Regions from separate parts of the Homo sapiens genome. Here all the other regions are linked to region 6. Evidence: promoter capture Hi-C in 16 types of primary human blood cells and fetal thymus (Javierre and others, 2016). All regions are on one chromosome and are shown on one strand. Each heading gives the region's core, a stretch centred on a gene start or on the middle of the fragment in contact. The rest is flanking DNA. Distances are from core to core; before and after follow the strand shown. Region 1 overlaps C3orf33 (chromosome 3 open reading frame 33). Region 2 holds the start of C3orf33 (chromosome 3 open reading frame 33). Region 3 overlaps GMPS (guanine monophosphate synthase). Region 4 holds the start of GMPS (guanine monophosphate synthase). Region 5 overlaps SLC33A1 (solute carrier family 33 member 1). Region 6 holds the start of DHX36 (DEAH-box helicase 36). Region 7 holds the start of PLCH1 (phospholipase C eta 1).

Evidence for each region. Contacts are between HindIII fragments. The CHiCAGO score rates a contact against its expected background, and 5 or more counts as called.
Region 1: a fragment that was not itself captured here is called in contact with the fragment with the promoter of DHX36 in region 6 in 1 of 17 cell types (naive CD8 T cells); the score reaches 5.4 in naive CD8 T cells.
Region 2: a contact is called between the fragment with the promoter of C3orf33 here and the fragment with the promoter of DHX36 in region 6, in 2 of 17 cell types (naive CD8 T cells and non-activated CD4 T cells). The highest score is 8.6, in naive CD8 T cells.
Region 3: a fragment that was not itself captured here is called in contact with the fragment with the promoter of DHX36 in region 6 in 1 of 17 cell types (naive CD8 T cells); the score reaches 6.3 in naive CD8 T cells.
Region 4: the fragment with the promoter of GMPS here is called in contact with the fragment with the promoter of DHX36 in region 6 in 1 of 17 cell types (neutrophils); the score reaches 5.3 in neutrophils.
Region 5: a contact is called between a fragment that was not itself captured here and the fragment with the promoter of DHX36 in region 6, in 7 of 17 cell types (activated CD4 T cells, naive CD4 T cells, non-activated CD4 T cells and 4 more). The highest score is 13.2, in activated CD4 T cells.
Region 7: a fragment that was not itself captured here is called in contact with the fragment with the promoter of DHX36 in region 6 in 4 of 17 cell types (non-activated CD4 T cells, monocytes, activated CD4 T cells and 1 more); the score reaches 7.7 in non-activated CD4 T cells.

Annotation. Positions count from the first base shown.
Region 1 is chr3:155,774,087-155,777,128 of GRCh38, forward strand. C3orf33 (chromosome 3 open reading frame 33) reads right to left here. Exons shown (of 5, transcript NM_001308229.2): 3 at 1,615-1,762. Among named protein-coding and RNA genes, the nearest start is that of PLCH1, 31 kb to the left of the region's middle. The HindIII fragment of the contact is 1,020 bases long and covers 990-2,009 here.
Region 2 is chr3:155,804,561-155,807,624 of GRCh38, forward strand. It overlaps C3orf33 (chromosome 3 open reading frame 33), which reads right to left and starts at 1,718. Exons shown (of 5, transcript NM_001308229.2): 1 at 1,579-1,718. The coding sequence starts at 1,692. RefSeq lists a silencer at 1,653-2,002. The HindIII fragment of the contact is 11,000 bases long and covers 1-3,064 here.
Region 3 is chr3:155,913,885-155,916,761 of GRCh38, forward strand. It overlaps GMPS (guanine monophosphate synthase), which reads left to right. Exons shown (of 16, transcript NM_003875.3): 8 at 535-686; 9 at 2,135-2,308. Among named protein-coding and RNA genes, the nearest start is that of GMPS, 45 kb to the left of the region's middle. The HindIII fragment of the contact is 3,503 bases long and covers 1-2,877 here.
Region 4 is chr3:155,869,229-155,872,244 of GRCh38, forward strand. It overlaps GMPS (guanine monophosphate synthase), which reads left to right and starts at 1,422. Exons shown (of 16, transcript NM_003875.3): 1 at 1,422-1,669. The coding sequence starts at 1,643. RefSeq lists enhancers at 867-916, 1,456-2,215 and a silencer at 1,057-2,276. The HindIII fragment of the contact is 27,854 bases long and covers 1-3,016 here.
Region 5 is chr3:155,851,442-155,854,422 of GRCh38, forward strand. It overlaps SLC33A1 (solute carrier family 33 member 1), which reads right to left. Exons shown (of 6, transcript NM_004733.4): 1 at 1,782-2,981. The coding sequence starts at 2,556. Among named protein-coding and RNA genes, the nearest start is that of SLC33A1, 1.5 kb to the right of the region's middle. RefSeq lists an enhancer at 2,574-2,643. The HindIII fragment of the contact is 1,501 bases long and covers 726-2,226 here.
Region 6 is chr3:154,322,784-154,325,880 of GRCh38, forward strand. It overlaps DHX36 (DEAH-box helicase 36), which reads right to left and starts at 1,704. Exons shown (of 25, transcript NM_020865.3): 1 at 1,391-1,704. The coding sequence starts at 1,633. RefSeq lists an enhancer at 1,597-1,891. The HindIII fragment of the contact is 15,842 bases long and covers 1-3,097 here.
Region 7 is chr3:155,744,847-155,747,647 of GRCh38, forward strand. PLCH1 (phospholipase C eta 1) reads right to left here and starts at 225. Exons shown (of 23, transcript NM_014996.4): 1 at 1-225. RefSeq lists enhancers at 1-83, 1-187. The HindIII fragment of the contact is 869 bases long and covers 1,048-1,916 here.

The DNA of each region.
Region 1 (3,042 bases), core at 250-2,749, 1.5 Mb after region 6:
AATATTAAGAAGGGCCATAAATAGAATTAAATTAATTCATTTGACAAATTTTACCAAGTCTCTATTGGCTAATAAGTCTTTTTCTAGGGACTTTGAATACCAAAATAAAAAGGAAAAACTCCTTGCCCATCAGGGGCTCACAGTTCAGTAAGGAATATAAACCTAAATACATAATAGCAGAAAAAGGTGAATAAGTACTATAATTGCAGTGTATTATAAATTGTTGTGGGGTATAGCAAAGAAAGAGGCTAATGCAGCTTGGCAGTTAAGGAGGCTTCACAGAAGAGCTGACAGTTGAGCCAGATTCTGAAGAATCAATTGATGTTCAACAGAGGCCAAGATACTCCAAGCAAAGAACCAGGCCCAGGGTTATGAGAATGCATATAAGCAGCAGGAAGGTCTGTGTGTCTGGGTGCTTTGATGTGAAGCAAGGAGAAATGGGAATTGCAGCAGGAAAGTGGCATCTTACACCAAACCTGTCCAGTCTGCAGCCTGTGGGCCACATGCAGCCCAGGATGGCTTTGAATATGTCCCAACACAAATTTGTAAACTTTCTTAAAACGTTATGATATTGTTTTGCTTTTTTTTTTTTTTTTTTTTTAGCTCATCAGCTATCATTAGTGTATTTAATGTGTGGCCCAAGAAAATTTTTCTTCTTCCAATGTGGCCCAGGGAAGCCAAAAGATTGGATACCCCTGTCTTACACCCTTCCTCCCTGTGCCTCAATCACAGGAGTCTTGGTATGTCTTGTCAAAAGCATCATGCTCTTTCTCACCTATCCTCTTTCTAGCTAGCCTCCTCTTAATTCTTCAGGTCCCTGATTAAATAACAACTCCTCAATGAGGCCTTCTCTGACTACTCTATATGTATAGATTCCATACTGCCATCCCCAAGACCACCCAGAATTATCCTAGTATCCTGCTCCTTTTCTTCATAGCTCTTAGGACAACTTTTCATTTGTTTGTTGTCTATCTCGCACCTAGACTATAAGCTTCAAGGGTTAAAAGAGCTTTGTTTTACCCAACATTGTACAATTAGCTTAGGTTCTAGACCATAATAGGTGCTCAACATTTGTGAAATGAATGAATGATTGAATAGTTCAATTTAAAAAGCAGTGAAGGGGCAGGGTGTGGTGGCTCAGGCCTGTAATCCCAGCACTTTTGGAGGCCGAGGTGGGCGGATCACCTGAAGTCAGAAGTCCAAGACCAGCCTGACCAACATGGAGAAACCCCATCTCTACTAAAAATACAAAATTAGCTGGGCGTGGTGGTGCATGACTGTAATCCTAGCTACTCAGGAGGCTGAGGCAGGAGAATTGCTTGAACCTGGGAGGCGGAGGTTGCAGTGAGCCGAAATTGCACCATTGCACTCCAGCCTGGCAACAAAAGTGAAACTCTGTCTCAAAAAAAAAAAAAAGGAACGAAAGAAGAAAGGAAATCTGAGCCAAATTAAGCACCTCCCACCTCCTTATATATAAAGCCAAGAATTGAGACTTTCTCATGGACAATGGAGAGTTATTAGGAATTAAAATGACTTTTTTTTGCTATTTTATAAATAACTTCTAATAAAAGAAGACCACAATAGTTAGTTTCATTAATCTTGTACCTTACTTACTTCTCAATGAAGCTATAATAGGTAAAGTAATAGGTATATGTTCAATTTCTAAACCATTCTCAGTTATTCGGCGTAATCGTCCACGTAGTTTAACATTTCTTCTTATAAATTCTACTGGAATATCCGAAGAGCTTGTAAATTTTGATGTCTATTGATTTACAGGGAGAAAAATATAACCACTTATTATTATTGTCATCTCAAAATTTAAAATGTCAAATTATCAAAACATTTCACAAGAGTACATAACCATGAACATTTTAAAATTTAGTTCCTAATTTTATATTACTTTAATATGATTTAATCAAAAGTGTTTATGGAAACATTATTTACAAATCATTATTCACCATTTTCAAGCCAACCACATAAAGACATTAAACAGACTCCTAACTTCTAAAAGCTTATAACCTCAAAATATGACACAATTCATCAAAAGACATTGAGTATCTATCTATGCCTGGCACCACACAAATCTGGTTAAACAGTCTCTAGCTTGTTCCACATAAGTACAATCTATTCATGCATATACTGACGGGAAAACTTAAACAAAGCTCAGTCAAATTAAGTTAGAACCTTAACCAACCAGGTTTTTTTACTATCATTTTTTTATCTTGTAGGAGAAAAGGCACATTTAAAAAAGAAAAACGAAAAAAAGGCCAACATTAGGACTGTACTACAATCCCTAACACTTAGGTGATATCCTGGAATCAATCAACACTTTATGCCTATTTTTTCCACGTTAACAATACCATAAGCTTTGTTCATAATTATGGCTAGTTAAGAGGCTCACATAACAGAAGGAAAAGCCAGGCACGATGGCTTATGCCTATAATCCCAGCACTTTGGGAGGCTTAGGTTGGAGGGTTACTTGAGGCCAGAAGTTTGAGACCAGCCTGGGCAACAATAGCAAGATACCATCTCCACAAAAAAATGTAAAAATCAGCTGGGCATGGTAACACAGAACAGGAGGGTCACTTGAGCCCAGGAGTTTAAGGTTACAGTGAGCCATAATAGCACCACTACACTCCAGCCTGGGTGACAGAGCGAGAACCTGACTCTGTCAAAAAAAAAAAAAAAAAAAAAAAAAGAATAAATTAGTACCCAACTTCCTATGACAGTAAGGTTGAACTGAAGATTTTTATAACCAAGAATAGTGTAGGAGACAAACCCAGAATGTGGAATATACTATAGAATAAATCACTTGGTTTTCCCAACAAATCAATGGCATTGGAAAAAAAGGGTGGCAAGATACTATAAAATAAATGAGATTTAAGAAATAAATAAAATATATAGACTATTTGAATAGATCATCTATTTTTAAAAATCATAGTGACAATTGGCCGGGCATGGTGGCTCATGCCTGTAATCCTAGCACTTTTGGAGGCCGAGGCGGGAGGATCACCTGAGGTCAGGAGTTCGAGACCAGCCTCA
Region 2 (3,064 bases), core at 468-2,967, 1.5 Mb after region 6:
TTTTAAAGTTAATGATTCCTTCTGAAAACATTTTCTTCACTTGGCTTCTAGAACACCTGGCTGTCTTGACTTTTTTACTACCTCACTGTCTGCTTCTTCTTAGTCTTTGCTGACCTCCTCTTTACTCCCCAGATTCTCAATGTTATAATCCCCCAAATTCTAGGGCTTCTTCAGTAGCTTTTCTCACTTGCTCTGAGATGTTATTCAAGCCCACGGCTTTAAATGCTACTTAAGGTTTATGCAGGTCATTCCCAATGTTCTATGTCAGGTTCTGATCTCCCTTCAACACCGGACCCCATATCCAGTTGCCAAGGACAGCATCTACAATTCTGCTTAGAAGTCTAATAATGATCTCCAAATTTGCACATCTCCATGTACGTGTCCAAAAAGTTCTCTAGATTTTCCCCAATAAATCATTTATTCCAACTCCTTCTCCTTATCAGCAACTATTACCAGCCTCCTTGGACCTCTTTCTTTGTACCTCACACCCAAACAATTCATATCACCACAATTCTGTGTCTTAGCCACAACCCTCTCTTGCCTGGTGGCCTAACATGTCCCTCTCTTGCTTCAACTCCAGAGGCTTAGTGCTTCACTTAAAAAAAAAAAAAAAAAAAAAGGCAGGGCACCAGTGGCTGATGCCTACAATCCCAGTGCTTTGGGAGGCCGAGGCGGGCAGATCTCTTGAGACCAGGAGTTCAAGGCCAGCCTGGGCAACACAGGAAGACCTTGCCTCTACAAACAAAAAACAAATTAGCCTGGTGTGGTGACAAGTGCCTGTAGCCCTAGCTACTCGGGAGCCTGAGGTGGGAGGATTGCTTAAGCCCAGGAAGTGGAGACTGCAACGAGACATAATGGTGCCACTGCACTCCAGGCGTGACAGAGGGAGACCCTGTCTCAAAAAAAAGAAATCTATTCGGGAGGCTGAGGTGGGAGATCACTTGAGGCCAGGAGTTGGAGGACAGCCTGGACAACATAGCAAGACTCCCAGTCTCTAACTCTAAAAGAAAGTAGTCGATGGGGTAGCGCACGCAACCTGTGGTTCCAGCTACTCGGGAGGCTGAAGTGGGAGGATCTTTTCGGCCGAAGTGGGTGGAGCAGCAGCAGTGAGCTATGATCGTGCCACTGCACTCCAGCTTGGGCCAGAGAGGAATACCGTGTCCCTAAAAAATAAAATTAAAAATAAATAAAAATTAGAAATGCTCTCTCCCAAGGCGTACAGGACTTCCCTGCTCTTCCTCGGTCTCCTCTCTGGGCCCTCCCCAAATGCTCTAATGGACCAGGTGGCATCCCCGAGCTGGGCTGCGTCTCACCCTTTGAGGTGCCCCCTACAGCCCAGCAAGGATCCAGAACAGTCCTTGTAATAATGAGGCCGAACTGGCCCCCTGGCCCGCCCCCGGCCCTCTGCAGCCCCGCACACACGACACTCGCGATGTCGCCCTCTCGAGCTCATTCCCCCGCAGTTTTCTGTCGCTCCCCGGCCCCGGCGGGATCCACGCCTGAGGCCTCACGTTGTTCTCAGGGTCGCTCTGTGCCGCCCCGCGCCCACCACCCGCCCAGACTGCGTGGCCCCAGTACCCGGACTAGGCGCAGGTGGTCGTCTGCCCACTGCGAGATCCGAGCCACGACGTTGGGCTCCATTCCGTCCTTGTCGGCAGACGGCGAGCCGGTGGCCGCGGGCTGCCCCGCCATGTTCCCGGCCTCCTGCGAGCGGCCCTGAGCTCCTCCGGCTGGCGGCAGGGGGCGCCGCTCACCTCGGGAAGGCGGCGGGGTCCCCTTCCCCGCGGACCGGGGTGGCCCCGCGACCTGCAGTCGCCAGTGGGCGGGCCCCAGATATCAGACGTCTTAACAGTGCCCCAACCGCTTTTATGCAGGGTGATTCCACGATGCAGGAGATCTCTGAGCAGCACTGTGGGGGCTGAAGCATTCCCTATCAAGCTAGTAGGATGATTGTCAGCTGGTGACTTCAATTCACTCAGCTGCAACGTGGTTTTCGCAGGTGCCACACAAGGAAGGAAATTGAAGTAATTCATTCCTTCCACCTGCTCCCAAGGAACAGCATATGCATATTTTTTAACCAAATACGACCTGTCCTTGAAACCTATGCATATTTCTTATATTCAAATTGTGCTTTAAAGTTTTAAGAGCTGCTCTGAAAGCCTAATATCACATGCTCTAAATCTTTGAGCTGTTAGAAAACAGTAGTTAATACATTTTAAATAAAACAAAAATTAGATACAGAGCAGTGCAAATAATATGGTAACATTTATGTAATAAAAATATATATTGAGGCCGGGTGTGGTGGCTCCTGCCTGTAATACCAACACTTTGGGAGGCCGAGGCGGGCGGATTACTTGAGGTCAGGGGTTCGAGACCAGCCTGGCCCACATGGCGAAATTCCGTCTCTACTGAAAATACAAAAATTAGCTGAACCTGGTGGTATGCGCCTATAATCCCAGCTACTCAAGAGGCTGAGGCAGGAGAATCGCTTGAACCTGGGAAGCGGAGGTTGCAGTGAGCCAAGATCGTGCCACTACACTCCAGCCTGGGTAACAGAGCAAGACTCCATCTAAAAAAATAAATAAATACTAAATACTATACAAGAAACTAGTAACAGTGACTACCCCGGGAAACGGAAGGTAGGAAAGGGCAAGAGGTTTCACAATCTGCCACCTCTAATAAACATTTTTCAGTGATAGAAATGTCCTGTAGCTTCATGTGGGTATTGCCTGCATGAAATGTGGCTACTGAAATCAAGGAACTGAATTTTTAACTTTATTAATTTTAATTAATTTAGTCACATATGGCTAGTGGCTATTATATTGGAGAGTGCAATTATACTACTGGAGTTTTTTTTTTTTTTTTACTTTATGCAAATATTACCTTTAAAAGTCAAAACAGACTATGTTGTATTCCTAACAATACATATTATGAGTGGTGGCTTCAAGGAGTGTATTGTCTCTGTGTTATAGCCAATAGAAAGTAAATAACAGCCGGGCGTGGTGGCTTACGCCTGTAATCCCAGCACTTTGGGAGGCTGAGGAGGTTGAATCATGAGATCAGG
Region 3 (2,877 bases), core at 71-2,570, 1.6 Mb after region 6:
AAATTTAATGAGTGCCTGTATCTGAATTCTGTTACTCAGGATTTATTGATAGTTCTTTTTCTTTTCTTATTTTTTTTTTGGGGATGGAGTCTCTCTCTGTCACCCAGGCTGGAGTGCAGTGGCACAATCTCTGCTCACTGCAAGCTCCGCCTCCCGGGTTCACACCATTCTCCTGCCTCGGCTTCCCAAGTAGCTGGGACTACAGGCACCCGTCACCACACCCAGCTAATTTTTTGTATTTTTAGTAGTGATGGGATTTCACCATGTTAGCCAGGATGGTCTTGATCTCCTGACCTCGTGATCCACCTGTCTCGGCCTCCCAAAGTGCTGGGATTATAGGCATGAGCCACCGGGCCCGGCCAATAATTCTTGAATATTGATAGTTTATTGAAATTTGTAGGCAGATTTAGGGGAGATCAAAGGACTGCTCTTCAGACTGGGAAAGAAATAGCTTTTCTTTCTGTATTTTGACTTGTTATTTTTGATTAAAAAACATGTTATACCAATTTAAAACGCTTCTCCCCTTTCCTCCAGTGATAAATGCTGCTCATTCTTTCTACAATGGAACAACAACCCTACCAATATCAGATGAAGATAGAACCCCACGGAAAAGAATTAGCAAAACGTTAAATATGACCACAAGTCCTGAAGAGAAAAGAAAAATCATTGGGGATACTTTTGTTAAGGTACCTTTGTTTTTAATATCCTCAACATGTACTATTTTTGATGTGAATCTTAGTATTTGTTTTTCCTTGTCACTATATCAAATAACCAAATTAGCTAATTTTAATCCTTTTTCTTATGTGGCTGAGAGTTTTATTGTATATTGTCATTATATTGACCAGTAGAAACTGTTTTATGTTTTTTTGTTGTTGTTTGGTTTTTTTTTTGTTTTTTTGAGACAGAGTCTTGCTGTGTCACCAGGCTGGGCTGGAGTGCAGTTGCACGATCTCGGCTCGCTGCAACCTCTGCCTTCTGGGTTCAAGTGATTCTCCTGCCTCAGCCTCCTAAGTAGCTGGGACTACAGGGGTGCACCATCATGCCCAGCTAATTTTTGTACTTTTAGTAGAGACGGGGGTTTCACCATGTTGGCCAGGTTGGTCCGGATCTCCTGACCTCATGATCCGCCCGCCTCAGCCTCCCGAACTTCTGGGATTACAGGTGTGAGCCACTATGCCCAGCCAACTGTTTTATGTTTTAATAAACATGTTTGCCTACATTGCCAGGCTATTATTTTAAGAATAGATGTCTTTAAGAGTAGATGTATTCAGCTTATCATAGACTTTAATTCATTGATTATCTCAATGGCTAATTTCAAGCTCTTGAATGGAATGTTCACATACCTTTGTTTTTGTTTTTTTTTTTTTTTGGAGGCGGAGTTTTGTTCTTGTCACTCAGGCTGGAGTACAATGGAGCGATCTTGGCTCACGGCAACTTTCACCTGCTGGGTTCAAGCGATTCTCCTGCCTCAGCCTCCCGAGTAGCTGGGATTACAGGCATGCACCACCATGCCCAGCTAATTTTTTTCTTTTTTTGAGATGGAGTCTCACTCTGCCGCCCAGGCTGGAGTGTAGTGGTGCAATCTTGGCTCACTGCAAACTTTGCCTCCAGGGTTCAAGCGATTCTCCTGCCTCAACTTCCTGAGTAGCTGGGATTACAGGCGTGTGCCACCATGCCCGGCTAGTTTTTGTATTTTTAGTAGAGACGGGGTTTCACCATGTTAGTCAGGCTGGTCTCAAACTCCTGACCTTGTGATCTGCCTGCCTTGCCTCCCAAAGTGCTGGGATTACAGGCGTGAGCCACCACACCTGGCCACTAATTTTGTATATTTAGTAGAGATGGTGTTTCATCATGTTGGCCAGGCTGGTCTCGAACTCCTGGCCTCAAGTGATCCACCCCACTCAGCCTCCCAAAGTGCTGGGATTACAGGCGTGAGCCACTGTGTTTGGCCTCATGTACCTTTTTGAATCGTGTTAGAGGACATGTTCATTAAGGAGTTTATTTTGGAGATTGGTGGATTTTATTTTCTGATCAGTATTTCTAAAGGACTCTAAGAGATTTAGCTGAAAGTATAAACTTTTGCTTTTAAAAAAAGTTATCTCTTACAAGGCTGTTTTACTCCTGTTGATTATAGATTGCCAATGAAGTAATTGGAGAAATGAACTTGAAACCAGAGGAGGTTTTCCTTGCCCAAGGTACTTTACGGCCTGATCTAATTGAAAGTGCATCCCTTGTTGCAAGTGGCAAAGCTGAACTCATCAAAACCCATCACAATGACACAGAGCTCATCAGAAAGTTGAGAGAGGAGGTAAAAGTTTATGAAAACTTTTTCATAAAGTAGATACATGGAAAGTCTTCCATTCTTCCCTCCTCTTCCCTCTAATATTCACAGAATTGCATAACCATCACCACATCTAATTTTAGAACATTTTCCTTACCCTAAAAAGGAACCTTATACCCATTAGCAGTCACTCCTCGTTCTACCTGTTGTTGTCATTGTCATCCTGCCCCCACCCCCCAGCTCCTCCTTTCCTCCTTTCTTGCCAGCCCTAGGCAATTACCAACCACTAATTTATTTTCTGTCTCTATAGATTTGCTTATTTTGGGCATTTTATATAAATGGAATGGTACAATATGTGGTCTTTTATGACTGGCTTCTTTTACTTACCGTAATGTTTTCAAGGTTCATCCATGTTGCTGCATGTATCAGAACTTTATTCCTATTTATTGCCAGATAATATTCCATCTTATGGGTATAATGCATTGTATTTATCCTTTGATCAGCTGATGGGCTTTTGGGTTATTTCCACTTTTTGGCTGTTATAAGTAATGCCGCCATGAATACTGGTCATAAGTTTTTGTGGATATGTGTTTTTA
Region 4 (3,016 bases), core at 172-2,671, 1.5 Mb after region 6:
GGGATTACAGGTGTGAGCCACCACGCCCAGCCTAGAATATATTTAAACTAAGCATTGTTTAAGATAGATGGGACTTAGCCAATCCTTAATGCCAGTATATCACATCACATTCCACTCCATTAGGGGTGGATGTTTATGTAAGTTGAGGTTCTCCTATTGGTTACTGCACTCTTCTTTAGATTGTGCATACAGACCTACCCAGAGAAGCCAGTATCCATGGCTTTGGAGAGTTCAAATATTCAATTTTCCGTTCAAAAAAAGGTAAGCGAAATACTTAAGTCTCAGGCCCACTAGGACCTTAAGCCTTTCGTTTTTGTAAATATTTCACTAATAAACTGTCTACACTTTCCCAGATTGGGCAGGCCTTACATTCTATATATACTGAGAGGCACATTATCTCACTAAGCCTCAATTTCCTCATTTGTAAAAAGGATAAGAACATCAATCCTACCTTACTACTTTCACGGGATTGGTTAAAGTTAGCTTTTAAAGTATTTTCTCACTCTGGCTCCTTAATACCCTAGCTACAGTCTGACACAAGAATGACTGCAGCAAAATGTTGGCTGTATTATAATAAAAATATTTGTGGAAAGGCTTTGTTAGCTGGAAGCCATCTCAAGTATTATTCTTTATACCCCAATCTCGATTTAGGCCTCTAGGTAACCAAATTCAAAGTAACACCTCATCATCATGATGGTTGCCAAGGGGTAGGTGGAGGGACTGCAGCCCCTTCCCCACAAACAATTCCAATAAAAACACTGTTGTGCAAACAGAGCTTCACGACCAGTTCCCTGGGCCAGCTGCTCACCAGATTACCACTCCCAAACTCCCTTTTCTTTGGAAATACTGCACCTGCTGTATTTGTGGGGAGCTGTATAACTTTTGAAGTATCTAAGTGATCAGTTCCTACAATGACATCCTTGAGATATGGCCACGGAACTTTCCAAAGCAGCCTTGGCCTCCTTCATGTCCAGCAACCTGAGATAAGGCCACGCCACCGGCTAAGAGTTCCGCCAGGGGCCCAGCTCTCAGGAGGCCTCTTCGGTGCCGCCAGCCTCCCGAAGTCATCCAAGGTAGCAGGCAAATCCGGCAGCAGCAAACTAGCTCGGATTCGGCTTCGGTTTTTCTCCTGGCCGGCGCCACAGGCCCCTCCTCCGGGGCGGGCTCCTCGGTGCGAGGGCAGGAGGGGCGGAGCCGGTGGATGCCGCGGGCTCCTCCTCCCAAGGGCGGGCCGCGGGAGACCCGGCCGGCTTTGCCGGCGGGGACCGGGCTGGGGGCGGGGCCGGGCGCCGCGAGCCCCTCCTCTCGAGGGCCGGCCGGTTTGGCGGCGGCTGCGGAGGGTATCTGAGGCTCGGCTGCCAAGCCGAACGGGCTCTGGCTCCTCCCAGTGGCCGGCCGGGGCGGAAGCAGGAGGCGGGGGCAGCGTGCGCGCTGCTGGTCTTCTCTCCCGCGGCGCTGGGGCCCGCGCTCCGCTGCTGTTGCTCCATTCGGCGCTTTTCTGGCGGCTGGCTCCTCTCCGCTGCCGGCTGCTCCTCGACCAGGCCTCCTTCTCAACCTCAGCCCGCGGCGCCGACCCTTCCGGCACCCTCCCGCCCCGTCTCGTACTGTCGCCGTCACCGCCGCGGCTCCGGCCCTGGCCCCGATGGCTCTGTGCAACGGAGACTCCAAGGTCAGCGTGGGGGTCCCTGCAGCACCGCATCCCGGCGGAGGCGAGGCTCCCGGACCGGGGAGCCACCCCGCGAGGCCCTTCCCCACCCCCTTCCCCCAGCCCGTCCGCGCAGCCCTGCGCCCCGGGCAGCCACGCGTCGTAGAGTCCCTGGTCGGGGCCTGTGGCATGTTTTATCTCGGGAGCGGCGATGCTTTGTTGATCTTGTCTGCGTGTCGAGGTCCGGGCGTCGGGGAGGGCATCAGCTCCCCGCGGCCGCGTCGCTGGCCCCCGCCTCCCCCGCGCCGCTGTGGGGCGCAGAGCCCGCGAGCGCGGCGCGAGGGTGGGGGTAGGGCGGCGAGCGGGCTTGTGTGTCTGCGTGTCGGGGTGGGGGCTTCCTCGGCTCCCACCCCGTCCCTCTGGGAGGCTGGGGGCCCGTTGTGGCGATCCCGGGGCCCGCCGAAGGCAGGGCAGGGTCGGGGCCTCCTGTGCGGCGTTGGAGCTGGGCCGGCCTCTGGTCTTCCCGCCACCCCGTTTCCCGCCTGCCCTCGGCGAGGCCCGCTCCATTCCCCCCGCCAGCCTTGGGCTCCGCGGCGGTTAGGCCGGTTCTGGACGAACCCCTCGGAGCTGCACTGTCTTCCCCCTCCCCCAACGCCCCTGCAGGCCCGCGTGAGGGCTGGTGGCCCCAGGGTCGCGCACTCCGTTCTCCCTCCCCGCTTCCTTCTCAGAGAGGAAAGGGTGTGTGTCCAGGTCCCGCCCCCGTCCAGCTTGCTCCCTGTCGAGCTTGCTGGTTTGCGGGGTAACCCGCTTCCCCGCCTTTGGGGTCCCTCCCCGGGACGCGAGCCGTGCCAGCTCGCCCGAGGCCTGGGCAGTCCGGAGTTCCGGAGTGCTGGAAAAGTTGCCGCCTTGACGTACCCGGCGGGGAGAGCACGTTTGACCGCTGCTGCTCATCTCTCCTCCAACTCACTTTTCTTAGACCGTTCCTCTTACTTTCGTCCCGCTTTTGAATTGGGCACCTTCGCTTTCACCTCTGTATTAAAATTTTCATTGGCCTGGAGTTCTTTCTGACCTTCACTAAGTCAGTTTTGCCAGCGGGAAACCGTGCAGTTTTGAATTGCGATTTACTTCATTAAGATACACCTCCTCTGTACGCTGTTGAGGGCCTAGCTTTAGGAAAAAACTTAATTAAATTTCATTCGGGGGGTGGGATTGTATACTTCGAGGTGGATTTGGTGCTCTACGTCAGATAGTAGTGCCTTGTTCAGGCAGAATTTTAACATTCTTTTTAAAAGGTGCTGCTCAAGGGTCACATCTTAGGAGGTCCTCTTGAATGGTTGCTTAGCACCCGGTAATCATTCAAAAAGTATTTGT
Region 5 (2,981 bases), core at 226-2,725, 1.5 Mb after region 6:
AGGTCTTGCTGTATTGCCCAAGCTGGCTCTACCTCCTCAGCTCAAGCAGTCCTCCCACCTCAGACTCCCAAAGTGCTGGGATAACAGGTGTGAGCCACTGTGCCCAGTCGTGACTTATTTTTTATTTTATTTATTTATTTATTTTTGAGACAGAGTCTCAAAAATGGGGTTTCGCCATGCTGGCCAGGCTGGTCTCAAACTCCTGACCTCAAGTGATCCTCCCACCTCAGCCTCCCAAAGTGCTGGGATTACAGGTGTGAGCCACTGTGCCCGGCCAGCAGTGAATTATTCATAAAGCAGGAGTGGAACCCCAGAACACTGAGACAAATCTACCTGGGTGCAAAGCAATTATCTCTCAACCAAACAACTGAGGAAAAAGTACTATCACCATCATTTCACCAGTAATAGTGGCTCACTCATTAGCAGTTTGAGGAGGTGTACATAAGGTTAGATGTCTGTGAGAATAAGATTGCAGGAAAATAGTGTAGTTGTGACACCTCCTACCACCACCACATACCTGGACATTTACTCTACTGTGAATTTCCAAGGTAGCACAGAAGCTGAGAAGTTCAGTTGCTTAAATTTCAAAACAGAATCCCCTAAATTCATCATCACTGACAGAATGAAGAATTTCACTATATTCCTGACATTGTTATTCCTGATATTGGTCATTTTACTTGTTTTCTAGTTGTTACAAAAGTTAAAAACAAACAAACAAACAAAAAAGCTTAGGCCAGGTGGGGTGGTTCACACTTATAATTCCCAGTACTTTGGGAGGCCAAGGAGGGGGAGAATCACCTGAGGCCAGGAGTTCAAGACCAGCCTGGCCAACATAGTGAGACAGCCCCCCCGACCCCCAACTATCTCAATTAAAAAAAAGAAGAAAAAAGAAAAAAGAGAAAAACTTACATGTGTTTTACTCATGCAGAGAAACAGGGAAATTTTTTAGAACTTACCCTCCATTACTTACAGGACAAACTTTAAACTCTTTTCCCATAGTAATTAAAGAAAATCTTACTAATTTAGTCACAGCCTTTCTCAGCACGATTTCCCAAACCCAGTTCCACAATTTAGGCAATGTCCTGTACTTTTTTGTACTTTCCTGCCTCAGTGCACTTTTACTTTGTGTTGTGCATTCTGGTGTGCCATTTCCTGGCCTCGTGGAATCTTATTCAAGAACAAAGTCAAATGTTATCTGCAATGTGAAGCCTGACTCCCAAAGGCAGTTACTAACTGGCAACTCTGAACTCTCCTAAAATGTTCATCTTCCTTATTTCTTGAGTGCAGAACTCTGCCTTATTCATTAGAGGCCTTAGAATCCCGTCCCTTAGCTGGTTCAATAATGTTTGAACGAATAAACCCTGTTCCATTCACTAGAAGGCTGGATTCTGGGTACAACGGTAGGGGTAGAAATGGATTAGAAAGTATAGAGCTAGAAACCTAAAACCAACAAGACAAAAGGAAAAATGTGAACCATATGAGCCACACTTTTTAAAAGTGTGCATTTGTGTATTAAGCAAGTGGCATGAATCCCTGGACTCGGTTGTGTTATTTGATGGGTTGCCTCTCCCTGTTAACCGCATAGTGATCATTTGATTGCTCTAATATCATTCATTTTGGCTTTAATATTTCAAAGAAGCTCATTTGGACGAAACAGAAAACTTACCTTGAGTTATCTCCCATACAATGATTTCCAGTAAATTAATGAGCTTCCCTCCAACGTCACACACTCTTTCAAAAGGATAAATAAACCTAACACCATAATAGCTTAAATACACTACCTGAAAGAGTAACGATTCCTCTGGGTTGAGGCTGAAACCGCAAATATTTGTTACAAAAGTCGGCAGATTCAAGGGCCAAAAACAAAACATTGCCCAAAAAGTAACCCGCTGTTTGGCCCACCGAATTGCAAGTAGAAGCATAACCCACATTTTCCCTGGATAACATAGTTAACGCCCAACCATCGACGGCAATGTCCTGAGTGGCGGCCAAGAATTCAAACAAAAAGAACGCCACAGTGAGAGCAATCACGTCGGGTGTTCTGTCATCGGTATTCCCAAGCAAACGGTCCACCTGAGTGGATAAATAGATCATGAAGAGTCCTAGTATATACTGTGTCGGGACAAGCCAAGATTTGCGACGACCGAAGTTCTTAACGTAGACCGCATCAACCAACGGGGCCCAGAGTAATTTGAGACTGAAGGGCCAAAAGACAAAACTGAAGAAAGCTTGGTCTGTATAGCTAACATTTTTGCTTTGCAAAATGAGTGGGATGCTTCCCGCCAAGCCCAGGGGAATACCCTGAAGCACGTAAAGAAAGAGTAGTAGCAAAATGCTGCTTAGTTCGGCCCGGAAGCTCTGTGGGGCTTTTAAGAAGTCGCCAGTGCCGGTATCCCCCAGAAGAGCTTCTCTGTCCCCTTCCCGGCCCGCTGAGTCCAAATGACTGTCATCCCAACCGCCTGGCGGCAGGGGACCGCTCTTCATATCCAGAGAGTGACTGAAATTCCCTGGCCGCCGTTGCCGGCTGCTGTCCTTGTGGGAGATGGTGGGTGACATATCAGAGACGATGCAGAGCCCCGTCTGTGGGGGGCCGAGGCTGAGCGTTTTGGATCCGTCCAGTCCCAGGTCCAAGGCTGTCGCGCTGGACCAGGGTTTCGGTGGTTCACGGGATGGTGGCAGGGCTCAGAGCGATAAGGGCACTTCTTACTGCAGCCCGGAGTGCTGAAGCCGGGAGCCAGTCCTCTGGCTAGAGGCCCAGAGGATGCCTGGATAGGTGCCCCCTGGAACGGCGTCAAAGAGCCTGAAGGAGACCCCCGGGCAGCAGCGCCGGGCTCGAGGCTGGAGGTGTGTGCCGTGGTGCCAGGATGGAAACCAGCTCCTACCTGCGGCGGGATCGAACGGCTGGTCTCCCGACCCAACACCTCCAGCTCTCGCTGCTATCAATGCGGCAGAGAGCACTTTCTCTACAGGACTCCAGAAAA
Region 6 (3,097 bases), core at 454-2,953:
AGTCCCTGGAGCAATATGCATAAAACCTTGTTTCAAACAGAGCCTTAATAAATAAAAGTTGTAAAGTTACTTAGACGTCCGTATCCTGATTTTCAAGCCAGTATGCCCAACGAAAAAGTTAATTTGGGGCTGTAAAAGAAATGGATTTGTTTTTTAAAGAAAAGTTTAAATTATGAAGATAAATGGATAAGGCCCCCAAAACACCTGAATGAACATGACATGGTTAAAAGAAATAAAAAGAAATGGAACGGTTTAAAAATAGTAGTCTAGGCCTGGCGTGGTGGCTCACGCCTGTAATCCCAGCACTTTGGGAGGCCGAGTTGGGTGGATCACCTGAGGTCAGGAGTTCGAGACCAACCTGGCCAACATGGTGAAACCCCGTCTCTACTAAAAATACAAAAATTAGCCGGAGGTGGTGGCGGACGCCTGTAATCCCAGCTACTCGGGAGGCTGAAGCAGGAGAATCGCTTGAACTTGGGAGGCGGAGGTTGCAGTGAGCTAAGATCGTGCCACTGCACTCCAGCCTGGGCGACAGAGTGAGACCCTGTCTTAAAAAAAAAAAAAGTTGCCTAAATGATGATCTAATTACACTCTATAATACATTTTATAAGGTGCTTTTAAAAAGTCACCAAAGGCCTATACTAAGAAAGTTCCTGCTTAATGATAAAAATTATTTTTTATTAGAATTTTATTTACTAGTCACTCGGAGAACTTTGTTTCCCTTACTACAGATCTTTAAGACACAAATCAACCTGACAATCACCTGAAGAGAGGAGAGTAAGCCAAATCATCTCTGGAGATTCCTTTCATTTTCCTTTTCAAAGAGAATCTGCTCATCAATAGAAATTTCTCCACCCCAACATAAAAAACAAAAACCTAGGTTTGCAGATAATTTTAACACTAATAATAAAAGCTGGACTATTTTTCTGAATGATCCACATCCAAAACAGTGTCTGCCTGCTTTTGTTCCGCGCAAACCTATCTCAAATGTAGAAAGGTCGCTATGTGCTTCTTCACCAGGCAAAGACCTTAAAGTGACAATTATTATTCTAAGGGAAAGGACGGCCAGAGATACGACAACGACACTCCTAATAAAGTTAATTTCGGTTGGAACGTGAACTTAACATTTGCTTTGTCACAGTTCTCAAGTCCTTTAAGCAAAGTATATATTCAGCCTGCATAAATCCTGCCTGTTTTTGGTCAGATGAGCATGGCTAATGTTACGCAGTACACCCGCTACGGGGAGCGCCAGCATAATATATTTGCGCCTCATTTACATTTCACAAAACACGTGCATCACTTAAGAAACAAAACCAAGAAAAAGGGGGCAGCGGGAGAGAGAAGAAAACCTGTGCTGCCTCATCCTCTCCACTACTGAATCCGAGATTACCTCTTGCCTCTCCGCTTCCTTGTTCTTCTGCCCCTGTTTTTTCGCGTACCACATGCCGATTTCGCGGCCTTTCAGGTGCCCGGGATGCCGGCCCCTGCCGCCTCGACCACCCCCTCCGCCGCCGCCGCCTCCTCCGGAGCCTCGGTTACCTCCATGACCCCCTGCTGGCCCCCCTCCATAGCCCCCACCGGAGCTGCGGGGACCCCCATCACGGCCCCAGTTCTGATGGTAGTCATAACTCATTGTCCTGGCAGACTACAACCCGTCAGAACCAGCAACCGCTGGAAATGGCGTCCGGGCCCGGAAGCCACTGTGCGCCCACTTCCGTTTTGCTTCCGTAGCACCGCACAAGAGGGCGGGCCATTTAGCGTCACAAGCAGTGGTTTCTGGTGACGTCACGGGAGGACGACCCCGGTGGTCTGGAGGGTGGCAGGGATCAGGTTCTGTCTGAGCCCCCGAGTTGTTTATCTTTGTACCTCTGGAGCAACAGCCAGCCAAAGGCTCGTAGATTTTCTTTCCCTAGGCCCAGCAAGTGAGCCAATAGCTTTTGGTTTTTACTTTCTTATTCCTGGTAAATCCGCAGTTTTTTTGCACTTAGGTCCTAGGGTAGTAAACGTTGATTGAAACAAAAGAACCCTTGGATCAATTCGCCGTCTTCTAAAGAAAAGTCTCTAAAAAATGAGTTCTTCTAGTCTTGAAAACAGCCTGACAACTATTCAAATATGTAATTTAAAATCCCCTTACCTCCTTGAAAGTGTTGTCACTATTTAGTACGTTTATCCAATAGTGTTAAGATGAGCGTGTCTACCCAAATTCGGTGCAGAGCTCTTAGGCAATGTAAATAAACTACTTTGAAGATTCATGTGTTCATATGAAGCCACATACTGTTTATTAACCAGCACACTGAGTGTTTTGTACAAGCTGTTCTTGAATAATCAAGTAATTGGGCCACACAGGCTTGGATGTACACCAGGAGATATCCAGCTCATGTTACAGTTAACTGATGTAAAGGTGCTGGGAATACTCACTGAACAAAGCAAGTATGGCATGAGCTTTTATTTGCCTACAGTCTTAAGGGAAAGACAAAGGCTATCTTTGTGCAGTGAATTAAGAAAGGGAAATGCTGTATGCCAGGAAGGGGTCTACAATACACCATTGTGGCCTAAAAATTATTTTGAGCAAAGACATTTGAGTTTCTGAAATCTACCTGTCTAAATGCAGAACCACACGGAGGAATTCAAATCAAGCTCCTCCCTGGGAGGGAAACCCAGGAAGACTGACTCTTATCACTGGAGGTTAGAAGCTGGCAACACACTTGAATAGACATTGTCACAAAGCTATCATATCTGGCATCTGTTTTAAGGTGTCATTTATTTTTACTAAAAGTCATTTGTTTTTTCCATACGTGCTGTTTTCCCCTTTCCTTCCCTTTATAAGATGGTAGATAAGTCAGAACTCTACCTCCCTGAATCACCTTTTTCTGTGAACTCTATTATGTATGTGGTTAAGTCTGTCTTTTCTTTTGCTAATCTGTTTTGTCACTTTAAGTCTGGGGCCTGCAAACACTGAATCTAAGAAAGTAGACAAAAAGTATTTCCTCCCTAAGAGCCAAGAGATACTACAGCAAAAGAATTTAATTTTGGAGTTAGGTGAGTTATGCAACAACTTTTGAGATAAGTAGACTTTTGCCAGACTAATGGGCAGAAG
Region 7 (2,801 bases), core at 232-2,731, 1.4 Mb after region 6:
GCTTTGAGTGTTCAGTAGCTGAAGGACTCCTCGGAGTCCGTGGCACAAGGAGCCACCTCCGAAGTGCTGGGGTGATGAGTTATTGGCCCCTGTGACTCCAACTCCAAACCCCTGCCAAGGGCCAGAAAAGCCCCCCTAGAAGAGCACTTCTCCCCACTAGCCAGCAGAAGCCCCAGACGAGCGGGGAAGAGCAGGGCGCCGCCGCCACAACCTGCTTTCTCATTCAAATCCTCACGCTCACACAGGAGCCCCCCTCCCTCTCGGCCCCGCAGCTTCCGAGGAAATCAGGAACTGGAGTTGCGGAGAGCGGACTGGAGCGCCTGCTGCCTCCTCTGGCCCGGGCGGGATGGGTGTACGGAACCCTAGGGCTGCACGTGGAACCCCAAGGCTGCACCTGGAACCCTTGGCTTACACTCTCCTGCGGGGCTCCCCGCTTGGCAAGGGCCAGAAGCACTGGGAATGAAGTACTTTTACTCCCCCGCAAGTTTCAAAAGTTTCGAAACCCAGGGTAACCCCTCGGGGCTGTAGCCAGAGGGCCTCGGTGGTGGGGGGTAAAGGAGTTGGAGAAACAAAGTTGGAAGTGAAGGGCGCAGGGAATGGGAACTGCGTGCAACTTGCACCAAAGTGAAAAGTGTTCTCAAACGTCCGTCTTACCTCCTTTAAAAAAAAAAAATTTCTAAGAATATAGCATCTGTCGATGCCGCAAATTAAAGAGATCTACTCTGAGTGAATGGGAACTGCGTGCAACTTGCACCAAAGTAAAAAGTGTTCTCAAACGCCCGTCTTACCTCCTTTAAAAAAAAAAAATTTCTAAGAATATAGCATCTGTCGATGCCGCAAATTAAAGAGATCTACTCTGAGTGAAGTGCAACTAAAATTGAGAGCGTGTAAATGGTAACACTTTGCTTTTATTTACCCCCAGTCTCTTCATTTGGAAATGCTACTCCTTGGCATTAACAGGCCACTTATTCACTTAGATCCGTTTAGTGGCTGGTTGACTCAAGCGGGCAACCTGCCGGGAGTAAGAAGGCGGCGGTGGCAGAGGAAAGCTTGCACGAAGCAGGCACTCAAGTGTTGATGAAACGATGAAATCTACTGAATGCACTGAAAGGATGAGTGACCAGCTTGGGGCGGATGCTGGAACCGCCGCTGGCCTAGACGGCCGCGGTGTGATCCGGCTTCTGGATTCCAGGATTTACATTTATCAGCCTTCATTCAACCTGCCCTATTGTTAGTTCAAAGCCTGGCTGGGAAGGAGTGGGGACGCAGCTCTTCACTCACCTTTCAGTTTAAAATAATCCTCCAATAAGAATGTCCTAGGAAAGCTGGCAGCATGGGGTTGGCAGGGATTTTCTGGGCTTAGTGACAACATAAACTAAAGTCATTTTCTTTTTTCATGCGTGAATTTGCCCAGGAAGTTACAAACGAGTAAGTTACAAATGAGTGCCTGAGATTGGAGCTCAGGGCCTTGGCTGCCTGTTCTCTTTGACAGACAGTGTGGAGGGTGGTAGCACTGTGACCTCTCAGCGCAAGATCTAGGGTTTCACCTTTTCATCCCACTTAGCCGATACCATAGAAACAACCCATTTGTATTATTCAATTCAACAGAGGCAATTACAATGTCACAGCAAAGCACCATGGGCAAGAAGAAACTTTGTCCTGAAAACAATCCTAGACTCTCAGAAAAAAGAAAAAAGCCACCAGAATACCCACTTGAATTTCTTCCTGCCAATAGTACCAGGAAGAAATCAATTTGGAAAAAATGTAGGTAAGGTCCTTTGCCTCTATAGAAAGAAACCTCCCCAAATTTACTTGTTTTTGTTTTTGTTTTTTTGCATGCCCATACACAAGCCTCAATTTATAAGAAATTAAGTCATTAACCCTCTGCCTCCAAACTGCTTTATATTTTGTAAACAAGCTTGTTGGAGATTTGTTTTGCTGGTAACCTCCATGGTGAATAGAAAAGCCAAAAAAAAAAAAAAAAAAAAAAAAACCACCAAGATAATCCCTCAACAGCAGCAGTTCACCCCCTAACCTCCGGTGTTTGTCTTTCTTGAGTCTGAAAAAATGCAGATGCACATGTTGAAATAAACTCAGACACAAAGTTCATAATAAGAGCACTTGTTTGCTATGCATTCTTTATTTTGATAGTTTTAATCAACTCCCATAATTTTGTAAACTTTTAAATTTTTAAATTGTGTGATATTTCAAACCTACCAAAAACAGGATATATACCATGTAATACTCCTGCTCCCCCCAGCCCTTCTTTTTTAAATAAAGCATTACAGATATAGCTAAACCCCAACTCCTGACTCGTTACCCCCACCCCTTCCCAAAGGTAATAATTCTGAAGTTGGTATGAATCATAATTATGCATGTTCTTAAATGTTTAGGACATTTATACATCCATAATCTTTTAATGTAGCTTTTCTCTCCAAGTCGTTTTAACATTATTTATCTGAGAAAAATCACTAAAACAATTAATTAATTAATTGGAGAAAATCACTAAAAACAAGAAAATGTGTTACATTGCTAAGTTTTTAGAAGCAGGACAGAACTATTTTTCCTGCTTGTGACAATCAGAGTATGGAATAATAACAAAGGGATTAGACAGTGGGTAATAAGCAGCCTCTCTAGGTTACACAAACTCTTCCATGGTTACCAAAGAATAAATAGAAAAACAAAACAAATAATACCCTCCTCTTTCACTGGTTAAAGGGGAACTGGAGAAAATGAGATCTTCATTAAAACTTCTTTGGGCAGGTAAGACAAACATCCTACATGGTAGTAAAGTACCTTTT